Regions from separate parts of the Homo sapiens genome. Here region 1 is linked to region 2. The links are contacts of gene promoters, found by promoter capture Hi-C in blood cells and fetal thymus (Javierre and others, 2016). All regions are on one chromosome and are shown on one strand. Each heading gives the region's core, a stretch centred on a gene start or on the middle of the fragment in contact. The rest is flanking DNA. Distances are from core to core; before and after follow the strand shown. Region 1 holds the start of ING5 (inhibitor of growth family member 5). Region 2 holds the start of RNPEPL1 (arginyl aminopeptidase like 1).

Region 1 (4,929 bases), core at 2,238-4,737, 1.1 Mb before region 2:
CTCGGGAGGCTGAGGCAGGAGAATCACTTGAACCCGGGAGGTGGAGGTTGCAGTGAGCCAAGATCGTGCCACTGCACTCTAGCCTGGGCAACAGAGTGAGACTCTGTCTCAAAAAAAAAAAAAAAAAAAAAGAAAAAAACAGAGTTAGGGCCAGGCGAGGTGGCTCACGCTTGTAATCCCAGCACTTTGGGAGGCTGAGGCGGGCAGATCATGAGGTGAGGAGATCAAGACCATCCTGGCTAACACGGTGAAACCCCGTCTCTACTAAAAATACAAAAAAAAAATTAGCCAGGCGTGGTGGCGGGCACCTGTAGTCCCAGCTACTCAGGAGGCTGAGGCAAGAGAATGGTGTGAACCCAGGAGGCAGAGCTTGCAGTGAGCTGAGATCACGTCACTGCACTCCGGACTGGGCGACAAAGCAAGACTCCGTCTCAAAAAAAAAGAAACGGAGTTAAATATCAAACGGCCAAAAAGTACTACCAAACTTTTAAAACAATGCACGCACTACACACTTTGAAAATTGAAAATATTTAAAAGAAAAAATTGGCAATAAATATTTTGATTGGAAAGGGTGATGGTTATAAAAACATGATATAAAGATGTGTAAGAACCCAAGAAACAATGTGGCTTCAAAAGTATCAACACCTACTGCAAGACACTGAGTGATACCCACGGCCCAGGGCTAGGCCAATGCCCCACTAACCTGGGTCCCCTCAAAACCCTCTGCCCCCAGCCTTCAGGAGCTGCTGGCTCCCACCTGTCAGAACTCAGTTCTGGTTGTATGGAGAGGTCTGAACCCACCTTCCGTCCTCTGGTCCAGCTCTCGCATCAGCTGGAAGTTCCTCTGAAGTTCGCAGGGAAGGTTCTCGATACCTGAAACGCAAAAACACAGAAGCCATGTACCTCTCAGCAGCAAGACAAAAATTCACCTCCAAAGGTTTTCTGTCTTTTTTTTTTGAGATGGAGTTTCACTCTTGTTGCCCAGGCTGGAGTGCAGTGGTGCGATCTTGGCTCACTGCAACCTACACCTCCCAGGTTCAAGTGATTCTCACGCCTCCGCCTCCTGAGTAGCTGGGATTACAGGCACATGCCACCATGCCCGGCTAGTTTTTGTATTTTTAGTTGAGACGGGGTTTCACAAGGTTGGCCAGGCTTGTCTCGAACTCCTGACCTCAGGTGATCCGCCCACCTCGGCCTCTCAAAGTGCTGGGATTACAGGTGTGAGCCACCAGGACTGGCCAAAAGTTTTATACTTCAAGTCTACAAGCCCACTCTGTATTCTGTCTCTGTCAGGGTTTGCGGAGCGGAAGGACTGTGATCTCATTTTTAGATGCAGGTACCAAACAGTGCTGACAAGAGGCTGTGTGCACACTTCGGAAGCTGTCAGAAGTCAAAGAAGGGAGAGGGAAACTTGGAAACCAACAGCACAGGCAGGGGAGGCCAACTGACCCCACCCTCTAGGCTGCCCCCCCTCAGTGAGCAGCATCTTCCAAGGCTCAAGCCAAAATCCCCTGGGTCCTCCTTGATCTTCCCCTACTTTACCCAGAAATCCAGTGCATTGAGCAGTGTAGCCACGCTGCCCACGCGACTTTATGCAAGGATAGAAATGTTTCCTCTCTCGGATGGGCGTGGTGGCTCATACCTGTAATCCCAGCACTTTGGGAGATCAAGACAGGCAAATCAGTTGAGGTCAGGAGTTCAAGACCAGCCTGGCCAACATGGTGAAACCCTGTCTCTACTAAAAATACAAAAATTATCCAGGCGTGGTGGTGCACAGCTACAGTCCCAGCTACTCGAGAGGCTAGGGCATGAGAATTGCTTGAACCTGGGAGGTGGAGGTTGCAGTGTGCTGAGATCATACCCTCCAACCTGGGCAACAGGGTGAGACTCCATTTCAAAAAAAATCAAAAAAAGAAAAAGAAAAGAAATGTTCTCTCTGAGCTGCCCAAGACAGTGGTGGCCATAGGGAGCTACTGAGCACTGGAAATGGGACTAACGCCATTCAATTTTTAATTTTACTTAAATAGTCCCTGTGGCTAGCGCAACCATTCCCCACAGTCTGCCAGGAGGACCCCCGTGCTGCTTTCGCGTCTGCTTTGTTACCCCCTAGACCAGGCCAACCTCCGCCCCCTGCACAGCTGACACAGGCTCCTAAGGGGGGCTGCCTCCTCCAGTCTTGGCCACCCTCCCATCTGCTGTTCACAGTTACCAGGCAATCATTTTAAACCTAACTCTATCTTATGCATCTGATGCTTCCAGCCCCAGTGTTTTCCCAGCTCCCCTAGAGGACAGAGGCACAGCCTCCCGGCTGGCACAGCCTCCCAGACACACACAAAGTCAACCCTCCTTGGGAGGCCAGCCCACTGGCTGGGCACCAGGATAGAGAAGGCCTCCCCTCCAGCGTGCTCCCCAGCTTGACTCTTCTACCCAGGGAACCCCCCACTACTCAGACCCCCAAGAGACAGCGGAGCACATGGGCAGAATCGGGCGTCCCTCTAGGGCAGCGGTCTCCAGCTCCAGGCCACGGCTCACTCGCCACTGTCTCAGCCCCTGGGCGGGTGCCAGGCCGAAGACCATGAGGATCCCCAGTGCAGCGCCCCCACAAGGGCCCTCCAGAGCCACCCGGCACAACCCCAAACACCGCGACCCCAAAGCTGTGCCCATCCCGGGCCGACGTCAGGGGTCCCGCGTGGGGTCTGCCCCTCTACGAGCGGGAGACCCTGAGCAGGCTGCTCGGCAGCGCTGGACCTTCCCTGGTGTGTAAAGTGAGGGAAAGCACCGTCCGCTCAGCCGCTGGGGGCGCCGACCTGCTGCCACCTGGAAACAGCACAGCCCGCCCACCAGGGCCGACTCGGCACCGCCCTCCCCGCCTCCGCGCCGCAGTCCCCAGTGCCGGGGAGAGACGCCCCGCGGCCCGCACGCCCTCCCCAGCCGCGGTCACACAAGAGGCCGGCGCACACGGGCGCACAGCCAGGCGGAGGCCCAGACCCCGGAGCCCCCAAGGCCCGGAGCCCCGCAGCGGGCGCCAGCTCCTCCTGCAGACGGGACAGGGACGGGCGGGACCTGGCGGGGCCGGGGCCGGAGCTGGGGGCGGAGATGAGGCGGGGCCTGGGTAGGGGCGGGACCTAATATGTGGGCGGGGTCGAGGCCGCAAGCCCCGCCCAGCATCGCCAGGCCCCGCCCCGCCGTGACGCACCTGGAATTGGCGCGACCCAGCCGGCGGGACCCCCCGCGCCCGCCCCCCGCGCCCTCCCCTCCCTTGCGGCCCTGCCCCGCCCCGTCCGCGCGCCCCCCGTCGCGCCCGGCCGCGCCCGCCGCCCTCCCGAGCCCACGGGGTCTGCATGCGGTGCCCGGCGCGCGGGGGGCTGCGGCACGGAGGACTCCGCGTGGGCGGCGGGCGCGGGGCCCGTGGGGCGCGCTTACTGTCCAGATAGTGCTCCAAGTACATGGCGGTCGCCATCTTCGTCCGCGGCCGCGCTCGGGGTCTGCGCGGGCGGGCGGTGCCGCGGGAGGCGGGGGCGGGGCGGTGCCAGCGCGCTCACTATTCATGAGTCGCGCGCGCTGATTGGTCGCGCCCGGGGGCGGGGTCGGACACGCCTTTCAGCTTCCGGCGGGCGGCGGGCTGCGGGGCCCGGGCGGAGGTTGTGGCAGCGGCGTCGGGCAGCGAGCAGGACCCAGGGCCGCAGCGGATCGGAGGCCGAGGAGGAGCAGGGGTTCCCGGCCCCACCGCCCGGCGTGCGGCCCAGGGCACCCAGGTGGGCGTCTCCCCTCCGCACCTGTCAGCGACCCCTGGGCCACCAAACGCAAACACGTGGTCCCGGGGACCTCACGCCCGTCCTGACGGCGCCCACGCGACCCCTGCTCCCGGCCGGGTCCCGGACAGGCCGCCACGAGGCCCTCCCTTCCCGAAGGCTCCTTGGGACCTGTCTGGCTCAGCGCCTTTCCCCCGGACCCCGAGCCCCCGGGGCCTCAGCCCGGCCTGAGCCGAGGGCCGGCACCGCGTGGCCCGGGCGAGCTGCCCCTCCCTCAGGGCCTGGGCCCTGGCGCCCTTCCCCCGCCAACGCCGCCCCTTCCCTCCGAGGAAAGCGGCCGCCCCGCCCAGCACCAGTGAGGGCACTGGCTCCTTTGCTGCCACCTCTCGAGGCAGGCAGGACCCGCACCATCTGGATGCCTTGGCCGAAAAGGCACGTGCGGCAGTATGATATAGTTAATAAGATGGCGTGCAAAGGTGTGCCGTAAGATGCATGCAAAAATACTGGAGAAGGCCGGCGCGCTGGCGCACGCCTGTAATCCCATCACTTTGGGAGGCCGAGGCGGGCGGATCACTTGAGGGCAGGAATTTGAGACCAGCCTGGCCAACGTGTTGAAACCCCGACTCTACTAAAAATACAAAAAAAAAAAAAAATTAGCCAAGCGTGGTGGCGCACGCCTGTAGTCCCAGCTACTCCGGAGGCTGAGCCCGGGAGGCGGAGGTTGTAGTGAGCTGAGATCGCGTCTGCACTCCAGCCTGGGCGACAGAGCAAGACTCTGTCTTCAAAAAAAAAAAAGAAAATTTTAAGAAAAAAAAAATACTGGAGAAACATAATTAAAATATGTTTCAGACTCGGCACGGTGGCTCACGCCTGTAATCCCAACACTTTGGGAGGCCGAGGCGGGCGGATCACTTGAGGGCAGGAATTTGAGACCAGCCTGGCCAACGTGGCGAAATCATGTCTCTACTAAAAATACAAAAATTACCCGGGCGTGGTGGCGGGCGCCTGTACTCCCAGCTACTCGGAGACTGAGGCAGGAAAATTACTTGAACTTGGGAGAGGGAGGTTGCAGTGAGAAGAGATCATGTAACTGCACTGCAGCTTGGGTGACAAGAGCAAGACTCCGTCTCAAAATAATAATAATACAAAAACTAGCCGGGCATGGTGGCAAGTACCT
Region 2 (4,712 bases), core at 429-2,928:
GAGAAGCCCATCCCTCAGTTCTCACCTGTCATACTGGGAGGCATACTTGCCACCGGTCAGAGCCCTGGAATACCACAGCAGGGGCGGGGCCGGCTAGCCAGCGGCCTGCACACCCACAGGGGTTCTGGGAAAAAGGTGAGGTGGCAGGTCCTGCTTAGGGCTCCTGGGAAATGTACAGGAAGCCCATAGGGGTGCACTGGTCTGGGTTCTTCCTGCCCAGATGTCACCTTGGCTCTTTGTGGCCTGAAGCCTCTCGACCACCTCTCCACCACCCTGTCCATTTATGTGCCGTGACCAGTGACAGCTGGACTTCCCAGCGCCTCCACAGCTGTGTGTGTCTTGCATATGTCGGGTGTCACATGTGTGCCGTCCATACCACCTAGGGATGCAGTATGAACCCCCATGCTGTAGGCAGGAAAGGCCCTGCTCCATCCTGTACACATCCCCACTGGTGGAGGTGGAGGGGGTGCTGCAGCCACAGCGCCAGCCTCAGCCACCTGGCCTTTCTTGCAGAGTCTCTGGAGTGGTGGGTACCCAGTGTGCAAGCCCTGCAGAGCCTATGTGTGTCTATGTTGGGGTCGCGGGGCCCACTGGTCTCAACACTCCACCAGTGCTGGCCAAGGAAGCCCCAAACCGAGCATCACAATCTCCATGGCCCTTTCCTCTGCCTCTGGCTTGGACTCATCTGCACGCACTGGTCACATGGAGGCCCTTCCGCAGCTGACACTCCAGCCCAACCCTTGGTGCCAGGATCCTGCAGATGTACACCTCGGTGGGTGACAGAAGCTGCTCATGTCCCCAGGCAGGGACCAGACACCTGAACGGGAGGCTTCCCGGAGTGACATGCTGTCCCGTGTCCCCGCAGGACTCCGGCTTCTATCCGAGGGTCCTAAGGGCTCACAGGCAACAGCTGGGAATCACCGGGGTGGGGGGAGGGGGGCACCTGTAGGGCGCAGATTCGCGTCCCTCAGCCTGGCCGTGCGGCGAGAGGCCGCTAGCAGCGCCCTGCGGACCGGCCCGCAGCCCCGGCGCCCGCCCCGGACTCACGGCGGGGGCGTCGGTCGAGGTGTACCGCAGGATGACCTGGAAGGGCTGGTGCGCCTGCAGCTCGGGCGGCAGCGTGACGGTGAGCGAGGAGCCGTAGTCGGTGAACGGGTCCACCCTGAAGGCCAGCGGACAGCAGGCGGGCTCGGAGCCGGGCGCCTCGGGGAAGGCGGGCAGCGGGGGCGGCGGCGCGGGCCCCGGCCCGGGGGCGGAGAAGGCGAAGGCGCAGGGCGTCTCGGCGGCGGCGGCGGGGGCGCGACGGAAGGCGGCTGAGTGCAGGCGCAGAGCCGGGTGCGCGTCGAGCACGAGCGCGCGGGGCGCGGGCCGCAGCGCGCACAGCTCGAGCACCAGGCAGCCGGCCAACTCGCGCGCCTCGGGCCGCAGCTCCAGGCCCAGCTGCAGGTGGCGGAGGCGGAAGAGCTGCGCGCTGGAGGCCGAGGCCACGTCCAGGGCGGGCGGCGGCTCGGGCGGCGGGCGGACGGGCGCGGCCTCGGCGCCGGGCGCCTGGCGGCAGCAGCACTGCGCGGCCATGGCCGCCGGCACTAGGTGAAATCCATGGGCGGCGGCCGCGCCGGGCCGCGGGCGAGGGGCGCCGGGCGGCGGCGGCGGCGGGGCGCGGGCACAACAGGAAGTCGCGCCGGGAGCCGCCCGGCCCGGCCCCGCGCCGTGCGCCGCCCCGCTCGGGCTCCGCTCGGCCGCCGCCGGGGGCGCTGTGCGCGGGGCCGGGGCGCGGGGCCGGGGCGCCGGGCGGGGAGGGCCAGGAGCCAGGGGCGCGGGGAGCCGGGGAATCGAGCGCGGCGCGGGGCCGGGGCGCTGTGTTGGGAGCCGAGGCGCGCGGAGCGGGTGAGCAGCACCCCCAGCCCCTCGCTTCCTCCCCGGGCGGCGCCCGGGAGATCCCAGGAGGCGGGATCGCTGCTCCCTCCCAGACACTGCCGGCCAGGCCCCTGGGGCAGCCGCTGAAGGGACCCGGGAACCTTGGGGCCACAGGGGCAGGCTGCTTCCAGGTGTGGTTCGTGTTCCCGAGGAGCGCAGCGTCGCGAACTCAATGTCATCCTTTCATCCGGGGCTACGGGCAGGGCAGGATTCTCCTGGCACCCCTGCCACTCCTCCAAGTCTACAGGTGTGGTCTGTGCTGTGGGCCCTGCGGTGCGAGAAGCGCCGGAGCCTTCACGCAGCGCTGTCAACTACAGCAGCCACCAACCACGTGTGGCCATTTAGATGCGAATTAAATACAGTTAGAAGTTCAGTTCCTTCGTGGCAGGTGGAGTGAGTGAGTGTGTGTGTCTTCCTGGGAGGAGTGGCTAATGGACAAAGCAGGCAGGAATCATTTCCACAATCGCAGAAGTTCCTCTGGGCAGTGCTGGGGACCTCTCATTTGGGAGCCCTGTGCTGGGGTACGAAGGAGGGTCTGGCCCGCCTGTCCCCACCCCATCCGCCAGGTCCACCCTTCCCAACGCCATTCTCTGTGGACCTGGCGAAGGCTGCCCAAGGCTGAGCCTGTCCAGGAGCCTGAGCCCCGAGGGAAGGGGTGCTCGCCTGGCAGAAGCTGCTAGTGAGCTCACAGCGGTTAAATTTTGAGGCTGTGGAATAACAGGGGCCACCATGATGTCGCTGTTGTCATCAAGTAAGAATTCAAATTCCTAGGGACAAGGGGCTTCTGGGGCTGGGGAACTATCCAGGAACCCAGGACACCTCTCTCTTCTGCTCCATTGAGGTGTGGCCGTGCAGGGCTGGACTCGGGTACCGCACTCGACTCAGCGTCAGCCCTGAGTAGTGTTTCCTGTGTCTGGACTCAGTCTCCTCGTTGTGTAACCCTCTGTGTCTACCCTCCTTCCGTGGGGCGGGAAGGAAGGCTGAGAGGGAGAGTGTGCGTTCACGTTTGCGGGACAGAGCACTGAGGCATCATTTCAGTTTTCCCGTAGGACCTCAGGTCCCCACGTGCCCTCTTTAGGGACACGGCCACGATCTTGGGGCACCCATCCCAAACTCACCAGGAACCCCTAGGCTTACACAGTCACTCAGAGGTGTGGATCAGCCTCGCATCCAAGGCTGACAGGGAAGACAGCTGAGATGGGACCCTCCTCACTGCCCCCAGCGCCCTGCCCGGTGGGGCCCTGCAGTGCCAAGGGCAGACTGTTTTCGATGGCACCCCCAGTTCTACGGGGCTCTCCAGAGCCCACCGGGCCATGTTCCTGGCTGGAAGAACCTCAGTTCTGCACACGCGGTGCCACACTAGCTGGGCCTGGCCGTCCGGGGGGCAAGTCACCACAGGGAGCTTGGGGTCTTGCCACCCAGAGCCCCGCATTGGGCTCAGGGAGCAGAGGTTGGGGTCTCGCCCTGGGCACCTCTCCGCGGCCAGTTCTGCACACAGGAGTCCAGAGTTGCTGTGGCACCTCCTCCCCGGGGGCCCAAGGGAGCGCCTCCCACCGCGCACGTATGTGAGGAGCTGCCCTACTGCACCCCATGGAGCGGGAGGCGCGGCTGAGCCGAGGGGGCGGGGTCTGCAACTGAGCCGCGGGAGCCTCTCGCGCCGGCCCCGCCCCGCCCCGCCCCGCCCGAGGAGGCCCCGCCCCCGCCGGCCTGACGCCCCCTGGCGGCGGGAGGCTACGCCGCATGCAGGCCTGGGCAGACACCTCTGACTTCTCTAACCCTGGCAGAGGAGCCTGGACGTCGCGACTGTCAGCCCTGGCTTTCTCCCACAGGAGTTTTCATACTCCAGCTTTTTGGTGATCAGCGCAGTGAAGTGGCTGCGCGGCATCTGCACCCCAGCCTTCCCCTGATGCACCCGAGGGAGGGGTTCCTGGCTTCACCCACTAGGAGGTGGGTGTGGGCATGGAGCGTTTTAGCAGGCTGGGGAGGGCAGCAAAGCTTCCAGGAAGAAGCAGTGTTCAGACAGGGCCGCGCCCAACCCCGACAGAGGACCAGGGAGCTACCAGTTCTCAGATGGAGCTGGTGGGCTAAAAAGGTCTGATGTGACCCACAGGTGTCCTTCAACCTGGCCGGGGCCCTGCTGCCCTTGTCCCCTTGTCACCAGGGCCAGGTCAGCAGGTAAAGGGTGTGCCCTGCCCTGAGGCAAGGGCAGCCGAGGTTTTCATCAGGGTGTTGTGAGCAGGGCTGAGCCGCGGGGGAAACCGCAGACCCAGGTCCTCCCTCCTCTCCAAGCCACTGTTCCTCACCCACTAGTGGCGACCGGCGGCTGCTTCCTTCCGGGTTGATGAAAAGGTTGCATGAGTCATGAGGAGCTTATCTAGAGAGGCCAGCGGCAGGCAAGCCCTCCACAGAGATGGGGACTGCCCTGGGCACCAGCTTGTGATGGGGGCCGCGGTCCACAGCGATGGGTGGTGCCGGCTGGTGACACGGCATAGAGGGGCAGCGACCAACAAGGTGTGGCCTATGCTTGAGGCCCAGGTACACAAGGCGTGGGGAGGGAGAAGGCCCTTCTCACTACCACCCCCACGCTTGGCTGACAAAACCCGTGCTTCCCATCCCCCCAGCTTTGGGCTCTGCCGCATCAGAGATGTTCGGTCCCCAGGTGGGATGCTTTTGCTTAGGAACACAATCGGGTCTCACTGGGAGGGTGGCTCAGACACGGCCCAGCCACGGAAGCATGAGACAACACAGGGCTGGCTCTGGCAGGTGGGCATGAGGCTTTGTGAGGCTTGGGGGCC

Evidence for each region. Contacts are between HindIII fragments. The CHiCAGO score rates a contact against its expected background, and 5 or more counts as called.
Region 1: the fragment with the promoter of ING5 here is called in contact with the fragment with the promoter of RNPEPL1 in region 2 in 2 of 17 cell types (naive CD8 T cells and neutrophils); the score reaches 8.7 in naive CD8 T cells.

Annotation. Positions count from the first base shown.
Region 1 is chr2:241,700,597-241,705,525 of GRCh38, reverse strand. It overlaps ING5 (inhibitor of growth family member 5), which reads right to left and starts at 3,487. Exons shown (of 8, transcript NM_032329.6): 1 at 3,424-3,487; 2 at 802-873. The coding sequence starts at 3,460. RefSeq lists enhancers at 2,369-2,998, 3,237-4,069 and silencers at 2,724-3,283, 3,468-3,631, 3,374-4,193. The HindIII fragment of the contact is 17,390 bases long and covers 1-4,929 here.
Region 2 is chr2:240,565,450-240,570,161 of GRCh38, reverse strand. It overlaps RNPEPL1 (arginyl aminopeptidase like 1), which reads right to left and starts at 1,678. Exons shown (of 11, transcript NM_018226.6): 1 at 1,048-1,678. The coding sequence starts at 1,575. RefSeq lists enhancers at 1-592, 542-721, 593-1,231 and silencers at 992-1,041, 1,282-1,471, 1,612-1,671, 1,702-1,961, 3,472-3,711. The HindIII fragment of the contact is 8,327 bases long and covers 1-3,914 here.